2 separate regions of the Homo sapiens genome follow, and region 1 is linked to region 2. The links are contacts of gene promoters, found by promoter capture Hi-C in blood cells and fetal thymus (Javierre and others, 2016). All regions are on one chromosome and are shown on one strand. Each heading gives the region's core, a stretch centred on a gene start or on the middle of the fragment in contact. The rest is flanking DNA. Distances are from core to core; before and after follow the strand shown.

What was found. Contacts are between HindIII fragments. The CHiCAGO score rates a contact against its expected background, and 5 or more counts as called.
Region 1: a fragment that was not itself captured here is called in contact with the fragment with the promoter of DYNC2LI1 in region 2 in 1 of 17 cell types (monocytes); the score reaches 8.0 in monocytes.

The regions. Positions count from the first base shown.
Region 1 is chr2:42,359,453-42,364,094 of GRCh38, forward strand. It overlaps COX7A2L (cytochrome c oxidase subunit 7A2 like), which reads right to left and starts at 1,765. Exons shown (of 3, transcript NM_004718.4): 1 at 1,638-1,765. The coding sequence starts at 1,709. RefSeq lists enhancers at 174-253, 938-1,682, 1,456-1,775, 1,683-2,426, 2,416-2,505 and 1 more and a silencer at 2,056-2,225. The HindIII fragment of the contact is 1,989 bases long and covers 2,381-4,369 here.
Region 2 is chr2:43,771,820-43,776,548 of GRCh38, forward strand. DYNC2LI1 (dynein cytoplasmic 2 light intermediate chain 1) reads left to right here and starts at 2,220. Exons shown (of 13, transcript NM_016008.4): 1 at 2,220-2,327. The coding sequence starts at 2,320. LOC105374571 (a long non-coding RNA gene) reads left to right here and starts at 2,334. Exons shown (of 2, transcript XR_940033.2): 1 at 2,334-2,727; 2 at 3,054-3,173. It also overlaps the pseudogene RN7SKP66. RefSeq lists an enhancer at 2,106-2,155. The HindIII fragment of the contact is 6,929 bases long and covers 1-4,729 here.

The sequences.
Region 1 (4,642 bases), core at 2,125-4,624, 1.4 Mb before region 2:
TCCATACACTGGAGAATACATTTCATAGAAGCAGATGATAGAAATGGCCATTTTCTCACATAATCTGTAAAAGAAGTGCAACACTGCTGACTATTCCTTCCTTACAAGTCATTACCAATTCGGTTTCAGTGAGACCACACTGGTTTCCCTTCTCATCCGGACTATTCTTTAAACACATTCTCCTTCTCCACCCTTCCCTCATGTTTCTATACTCTAACTATAATCCAACCTTTCTTCCCTACAAATTACCACCTATGGGCTGAAGACACCCAAGTTTATTAAACTCCATATTCAAAAATCTAGCTGCTACCAAGCATGACATATCACAAACTCAACATTTATAAACCCTAAACTCTTCCTTCCCGTTCCCACCGCAACTCCCCCACTAACCCCCGAAAAAAAAAAAAAAAACTTGCCCTTCTTATCTGAGATTAGAATCATCTGTTTTTGTTTTTAGAGACAGGGTCTCACTATGTTGCCCCAGGCTGATCTCAAACTCCTGGGCTCAAGCGACCCTCGGCCTCGGCCTTCCAAAGTGCTGTGATTTACAGGCGTGAGCCACGGTACCAGACCTGAAATCTTTCTTAAACATCTGCCTCTTGGGCAAGCTGCAGTGTCCCACAGAAAAAGGAAATGAAGCAACAGTAATGGAGTATCCTTTACACCTCATCTGGGCCCCTCACTACTGCAGTCTAACTGCGTATCTCACCGACACTTCCCACACTTCTCTAGAGGATTAGGAGGGAATATACTATCTCAGACAGCTTCTGGTGAACAGTTAACACTTATCCAGAACCAACCACCTGCCCAAACTGCTAGTCACTTGACACACTTCATTTAATGTGTACTAACGCCGCCCTGGATGAAACTGAGCTCACAATAAATTAAATAACTTGGCCAAGGTCACACAATTAAAGCGGAAAACGCCATGATTTGAAAAGGCACGTCTGGGGCTCTAAAATCCCTCATGTTTACCCCCAACACATGCTGGAGAGTCAAACTCCAATTGGTAGAATCTGCGTGAAATGGAATACTTTTCAGACAACCCAAACAACGAGCATCTGTCAAATATTTTACAATCGGGAAAGTGTAACCTCGCTGCATGCAACTTCCCTCCCTGGACGTGTTAAGTAACCTGTTAAATTTCCCAACCCAGATCATAGCCCCCCAACCCCCTGCACCATGGTTTCTCTAAACGCCTTTATAGCCCCGCGCTCTCTAATCTCGAGCTCAAGTGAGGCTGCCTATGGGGCTCTGGCAGATGACAAACGACAAGGAGGCCGAAAGCCAGATGTCTTCGAATTGAGGGAGAAGGCCGGACCTCTGACTCGGGTCACACTGGGGACCCCCACAAACCATCCCTTTTAGACAAGTGACCCCGGGGGTCACCTTGACCCCTGCAGTGAGCCAGACCAAACTTCCACGCCAGGCCAGCCCCCGCCAGGTGAGCAGGTACACAAAAAGAAGCCTCAGTGACCACCGTACGCTGGTGTGGAGAGGCCCCGGGAGGTGCAAGGAGAACAGAGACGAACTCGACCGCGGGCAGAAGCCTCCCCTGGCTCCAACGCCGCGACTGCCTGTCGCCGAGGCTAGGGCCGCCACTTCTCATGTCCGAGCTGGCCAGGCGCCACTCGTACCTGCGGGCTATAGGCCTCCGAAGCCCATGCTCCTGCCAACTTCTGCGTGAAGCCACTAAACTTGTAGTACATGACGCCCAGAGTCCGGCTTCCCGCATCCGCTGCCAACGCGACCGCCCCAGAGAAGGACCCCGCCTCCCCGGCTGTGGTCCCGAGACTCAGCGCAAGGACCCGGTGCTGGGACTAGGGCTGCCCGAAGATCGCCTAACTTAAAACCTGCACACTTAAGCCGCATTGGGGAACCAAAAGCCAGGGTTCTCAGGACCACGAAAGGCAAAACCAGCTCTAAGAGAGCACGCAAAGTCGCTGTGGCGGAGTCTGTAGGAAATATGAAGTTCCCTCTTTCCCCCATTCAGATTTGGGCAGTGCCACGACAACTCAAGAAATGCGCAAGCGCTCCACGGACTAAGCCCGGCGGACTAAGCCCGGCAGTGTCGGAGTCAGGTGGAGCATGCTTTAGGAGGGGCGGGCTCCAGGCGGGGCCTGGGGGGGAGAGGGCGGTGATTGGTGGGCGTGGTCTGGGTAGGGGCGGGGCTACATCGAAGCCGGTTGGGAATTCCACCATCCGAGAGAGTCTGTGCTGCGGAGCCACCGTCTGGTCGTCGGGTTGAAGGCGTCTCTTGCTTTACCGAACTTTAACTGATCGTAGTCTCATTTATTTCCTTCCGACCTAGAGCACCTCTTATCCAGAAGCCACCACCTGCTGTTGCTCAGTCTGCCCAGGAGTATAGACTTGTCGGCCAAGCTTCCCCTGGCAACCTGGGAGTTGAAGCAAATAAGAAAATTTGGAAGCACCTGCTGAAGGCTGTTTAGTACCCAGGGCTGTTGGGAGATTTGCCCCAATAATATAAAAGTAGCCTCCTGGGCTTTGTGCAGAGGAAATACACATGCAGAGTGATCTAAAGCTCAGGTACCAGGATGTAAATGTCACACGGTTTCTCAGAACTGGTTTTTATTCTCACCTGAGTTTTAAGGTCATTGATTATTCATCCTTTTCCTGGCCTCTGCTCTTTGCGATAAATGAGGTAGGGGGAGGGTGATCAGAAACACTTGTAAAATCTGGACCTTGAGCCTGAAAGATCTGGAACTACCACTTTCAGTTCTGGTAGTATTCGCTTCAGTTCAATTTAAATATGTCTGTTAAGCCTGTGCTGTGTGCAAGGTACTGTGTAAAAGGAGTATACTAGTTTCTTACTCTCCAGGGATGGACTCAGGCTTTTCTTAGCTTCATCATCTAACCATAGGTTTACACAAGCATATTCTAGATGCACTTATGAAATCATGTTGCAAATTGATGGATGATACTAACCTATATATAGCATTGCCCTAAACTCATTTAATCTTCACAACAATCCTATAAGGTAAATGCTATTATCATCTCCATTTTAGAATACAGGAAAATGACGCCTGGAGAAGCTAAGTAACTTGCTCAGGTCAGGGATAAGTGGCAGAGCTAGGCATTTGGCTCAAGACTTCCTACTGTTAAGCACTATGTTACAAATAAATAGATATGAAGCCATTCTGAAAAGAGGAGGATCAAGGCTGAGCATTCCAGGGTGAGGGTGTACACCAGCATCCTGGTTGCAGGCTTACGTTCAAGAGCCCCAAGTATTCAGCACCGCCAATATGTTGTAAAGGTTTCAGCGAATTCATGTAAGCCAGCCCAAAGTTGCCACTTTTACAAAGAGACACTGTGATATAATGGAAAGAACATGCAATTTGGGTTTATGTCCATATTTCTCCAAGGATAAGTGGTTTGGGACTAGTGATTTCCTTTTTTTTTTTTTTTTTTTTAAATTCTTTTTGAAACAGGGTCTCACTCTGTCCCAGGCTGGAGTACAGTGGTGTGATCTCGGCTCATTGCAGCCTTGACTTCCCAGGCTGAGGTGATTCTCCTACCTCAGTCTCCCGGGTAGCTGGAACCACAGATGCGCGCCACCACGCCTGGCTAATTTTTTGTATTTTTAGTAGAGATGGGGTTTCACCATGTTTCCCAGGCTAGTCTCAAACTCCTGGGCTCAAGTGATCTGCCAAACTCAAGACTCCCAAAATGCTGGGATTACAGGCATGAGCCACCGTGCCAGGCCCACCCCATGTTTTGATACTGAATAGATTCAGGAAGATTTTTCTACGACAAAAAGTTCGACTACCTCAAAAGAAAATGATCCATTGACATTAGCCTTCTTGAGTCCCAGGCGCTAGCAAATATTGAGTGAAAGAAAAAGCCTTTCATAGAGTTTAGATTGAAAAGAGAAATTAAATGATTTGGGACAGCTACTGTCTCCATCCCACTGACTTCTGGACATATTTTGGAAGAAGAAACGAAAGAATATTCTCTAACTTTTAGCAGCACTAAGGTGTACCAGCTTCTTTTATAAGGTGCCTGTCAACACTGGTTATTTTCTTAAAGTTCCTGCCATCTGATTTTAGATCCTGCAAGACATAAATTAAGAATCCTGAAAATGTTACAACAGCCAGGCTGTTCAGTGGGAGATAAAATGTCAGTAGCAGAGTGTGGGTTGGGATGTCACATGGAATGGCTGATCATGGGAAGATTTTGTCTCATTTCCCAAATAAAACACAGCACACTCTGACAGTACTAAGGCACCCTATTCTCATTCGTATTTGCATATCCCATCCAACATCAAAGACAATCTTTTTTTATCACGATCCCTTCAGGTTGTTCCCCACATTCTATTCTGAAGGGAAGTGACCACGACTCAGAGTAGAGAAGCTTGCCAATCACCAGGTGAACTGAGTGAGTGCAAATGCCAGTCCAGCTCCTGGTGAATCTGAATGCCGCTGCTTCTCCATTTGTGAGGGGTGTGTGCTAATGGCCTCTGGCAGGCCGCTCTGTGAAAGCGCCTGGGGAATGGATGGAAAACCAACATAAAATTTAAATTGGGTAATACTGAGTAGAGATAGGAACCAACTGTGAAATAGTTGTTAATTTTTTAAATTCTCTCATTTTTTCCAAGCTGACTTTTAAAAAATTGACAGTGATA
Region 2 (4,729 bases), core at 970-3,469:
ACTTTCCTAGCTATTGTTAATAGCCTCCGCATGGTCTTCTAGATGCCAAACCACCCTTCACACAACTGCAAAAAATTATCTCACTGAAATTCATGTCTAATCATGGCACACTCCTATTTTTAAACCCTATTTGGTTTCTCATAACCAACACAGTAAAGTCTAGACTACAGCATCCTTCACAGTAGCCCCATCTACCTGCCCAGTTTGCTCTTCCACTGTAGCTCCACCAGGCACTTTATATGATCGCAACCCAAACTATTCAGTTTCCCAAATACATCCTGCACACGCCTTTACCCTTCTGCACTGTTGCTCATTCCATCCAGAAAGCAGCATAAAATTGTCTCCTTCTCCTTCCATTCTTACCTTAAGAACAATCTTCATCTACCCAGGAAAGTCACTTTCTTTGCCCAAGTATGAAGGCCTCAAGAGGAATGAGGGAAGAAAGGGGAACTCACCTGCTCAGTCAGATCAACTGAATCAACCCTGAATCAATGCTGCTGATCAGGGCCCAGCCGGATCACCTTCACTTTCCTGGTTACCAAGCTCCCTCCTTCAAACACCTCTCCCCGTTATTCAAACAAGTGTACTTTTGAAGTACTCGTACTGAGTATTGTGCCCAGTACATAGCAAGCACTTGGCAAAAATGTTAGCTGTCGTTATTGCTATCAATATCAACAGGCCTTCCTAACTAGCATGCAAAAGTATTCTGAAGTTCTAGAACCCAAATCATTACAATTCATTACAATCTGTCCCATATCAGTTTGTGAGCTTAAAGTCTGGCTTAGCACCAGGCTATAGCTGTTGATTCAATGACAGATGTATAAGCCTCCTTTGAAAAATCATCCTTTCTTCGGTGAGCTCTACTCCCATTAATTCCCTTCCTATGTGCAGCTTAGTGTTCTTTACGTCTCCAAAATATACCTAGGTGTTGGGAGGATTTTGTTCCCAATGACTTTATTTGAAATAAACACCCTTTTATCAACCATCAGCCTTGTTTCCAGGAATGTGTTCCTTGTGTTTCTTTGTTCGAAGTTGCTGACCAGCAGCTTATCACACAATAATAACAAGCATTAAGCAGTTATAATGTGTCAGACACCCACGTAAGTTATGTTTTACCTACATTTATCTCATTTAAGATTCACAATCTTTCCCGCTTTACAGGATCAGAAATTCAGTGATTTACCCGATGTGGCAATGTGACAACTTAGCCAGCGTGGCCAAGTCAGAACTTGAACCTAGGTCCATCTCACGCCAAAGCCCATGTACTTGAACATCGCACCATAGAAATCAAGCCGAATAGTAGAGGACTGGAGGGAGGGTATCTCCTTCAAATATTCAGGGCATCTTAGGCTAGAAAGCCTGAGTCTACTCAGCATTCAATACAGACCAAATACTATCAGTGCCATGGTTTCACCATCTCCTTCAGGCATAATTGGTCACTTGCCCTCATGCAATTTTTGTACCTCTATACAATAGTTTAGATCACTCACTTCCTTAGGTGCTTATAATTAGCTGAGTGTGTGTCTTTCTTAAGGGCAGCGATCTTTTCTTACTCATCTCTTTATTCCTTATTCTGTGTAGCATAGGGCCTTGCATATTCAATGATTGTTATTTATTTCAATGCTCGTTATTTATTTGGACACTCCTGCAGATCTATAAAGAGACCACAAAGTTCCAAAAGAAAATAATCTACATTCACAAAGTAAATGAAGTATGTAGGAGATGCACTTGCTTCATTAATTTATTAATAAATACACAATGTGCTATTGAATAAAACTTGAAACAACTAAACATCTAGAAAGTTGGAAAATATTAAAATTACGTGCCTTATTTTAAATTTTAAAGTCCGAATATTCCTTGCTTCTAGTAAATTAGCAGAAAACAGCTCAAGAGATTGTTACACCCTCTATTCCTAAATCATGGCGATTGGGAAGAAAAAAGTGAAAGATGAGAGAGAGAGAGAGCAGAGACCCTTGGCATATAGTTGACACCCAGTAAAAAAATTTTAAAATAAAAGAAAATTGCTTTTAGATCCCAGGTTTGTAACCCCTTATCATCTCGTTCTAGGAGGTAACAAGGAGTTACTAACTTGGGATCTAAAAGCAATCCTAAGGCTTGAGGCCGAGAATGAGATGTAAAAGGACTCCTGAAAACTACATTTCCCATGATGCCCGTCTCCCCACGCAACCGCGGCCGCGACGTCGCTCCCATGGCAACCCAGAAGGCCTCACTCCCAGACTCCTTGCGGAGCTCGCCGCCTGATTCTAGGCTGGTCACTACTCCGAGCCTGTGACGTTTGCGGCAGCCAGGCCGTCGACGATGCCCAGGTATTCCCTGAACCCGGCTTGCGTGGGAAAGGCTACTGAGAGTATTCCTGGAGAGAGGAAGCCCAGGCGGGACCAGCTGTTGGAAGATTGTGGGGGTGGCTACTTGCCACCAGGATATGCAGGGTCGGGGACCTAGGAATCAGCCTTGAGCATAAAGATTCTGCCGCAAACAGGAAAGAAAAGAAAGTTCCCTAGGTAGAAAAGTGAGAGATTTGGAAAGATCAGCAACTCCACCCATTCAATGATTGAATAAAAGTTTCTTGCAGGCCAGAGACTACTTCCGGAGCAGGACATTCGGCGATGAGCTAGACCACAAAGCCTCCTCTCCCCAGGGGCCTCCCCTCCTGGTGCGGGGGTTCGCAGTAATAAGCGAGGGGAAACTTGGAAGGCACTGTGGAAAGTATAACATCACTTTTAAGGGGGGAAACGGGAGAGGGTTTGTAAACTATATTCTAGCTGTTCAATTCTATGATATTCATTTTAATTACCTGTTCACAAGATATTCCTAAACCTTTTCTCAACAATTTATGCTTAAGCACGTCGGGGAGAGGGGTCAGGGAGTGCATCACAGAGCAGGATAAATCTTTTTCTCTCCTTGGGATAGTGTGGAGAATTGTCAGCTTTCCATCAAGGGATAATTGGTTAGTTATAAAGCTATGGTTATACTTCCCGATTTCCGCAGGTGTCGTGGCTGACTGCAGCACCTCCGTCTTTCCTCTCTGCTAGGTATTTGGAAAGCAGATCCTCATATTTTGAAAGAATGTTGTGTAAATGAAGAGCAAACAGCCCGAAACTGAGTTCTGAAGGCTCACCTGTGAAATAAATGCATGAATTTTAGTGCAAACATTTAAGGACTCCTGTTTTGACCCTTTTTCTTATTCCTGGTTCTTGAATAGTATAATTACAAGCCCTCAATAATTTTTGTAATTGTATAGGCCATGCCCTAAACTACATATATATTTTAACAATTATGACAATCCTATAAAGCTGATACTCTTTTTTATTGGCTTTTTAGAGATAGAGAAACAATTGAGCCTGGGGAATAGCACAGAGGATTGCATATATTAGGTGCTCAATAAATATTTGTTTAATTAATAAAGGAATGAAGGATTTAAAGAGGTTAGGTAGTTTTCCCAAGTTCACATACATAGGAAGTAGCAGAATCAGGCTAGGACCTATCAGGTCTTGCCCATGGTTAGTTTTTAGTTTAATATTCCATTTTCACTTAGGCTTTAATTAATATATATATGATTTTATCGTGTAAAGTTATATATCTGTGTAAAGAAATCAATGAAAGGATTGTTTTCAAAATGTTTGTGGTTTTAGGGTTTTTTTTTCTTTCTTTCTTTATGGTTTTTTTTTGGCGGGGGGAGACAAGGTCTTGCTGTGTCACCCAGGCTGGAGTGCAGTGATGTCAACATGCTTACTGCAGCCTCGACCTCCAGGGCTCAGGCAATCCTCCTGCCTCAGCCTCCCTAGTAGCTGGGACCACGAGTGCATGTCACCACACCCAGCTAATTTCTTTTCTTTTTCTTTTTTTATTTTCTTTTTTTTTTTTTTAGACAGAGTCTCGCTCTGTTGCCCAGGCTGGAGTGCAGTGGCACGATCTTGGCTCAATACAACATCCACCTCCTGAGTTCAGGTGATTCTCATGCCTCAGCCTCCTGAGTAGCTGGAGTTACAGACACCCGCCACCACACCTGGCCAATTTTTTTTTTTTTTTTTTTTTTTTTTTTTTAGTAGAGATGGGGTTTTACCATGTTGGCCAGGCTGGTCTTGAACTCCTGACCTCAAGTGATCCACCCACCTTGGCCTCCTAAAGTGCTGGGATTACAGGTGTGAACCACCACTCCCAGCCTCAGCCAATTTTTTTTGTTTGTTTTCTTTTCTTCTTCTTCTTTTTTTATACTTTAAGTTCTAGGATACATGTGCACAACGTGCAGGTTTGTTACATATGTATACATGTGCCATGTTGGTTTGCTGCACCCATTAATTCATCATTTACATTAGGTATTTCTCCTAATGCTATCCCTCCCCCATGCTAATTTATTAGTAGTAGTAGTAGTAGTAGCAGTAGTAGAGATGGGATCTTCCTGTATTGCCTAGGCTGATCTCAAGTGATCCTCCTGCCTCAGCCTCCCATATACTTTTATATTAAACAAAATTTTTTTTTACCTAAAAACATAATCTAAAACACAAAAAAGAAATGTTTCAGGGAGGAAAGATTATTTGATACACTGGTTTTGTACTTTTCCCATCTTCCTAGGTGACTTAAATGTTTGTGGTTTTCAAGTTGTACATTCCCAAAGTCATTGTACCTCCATATGTGTCTGAGAAGCTGACATACACAGCTATGAACCGTAGGGGAAGACCCAAATGTGACAGCCTCAAATCCTGGCAAT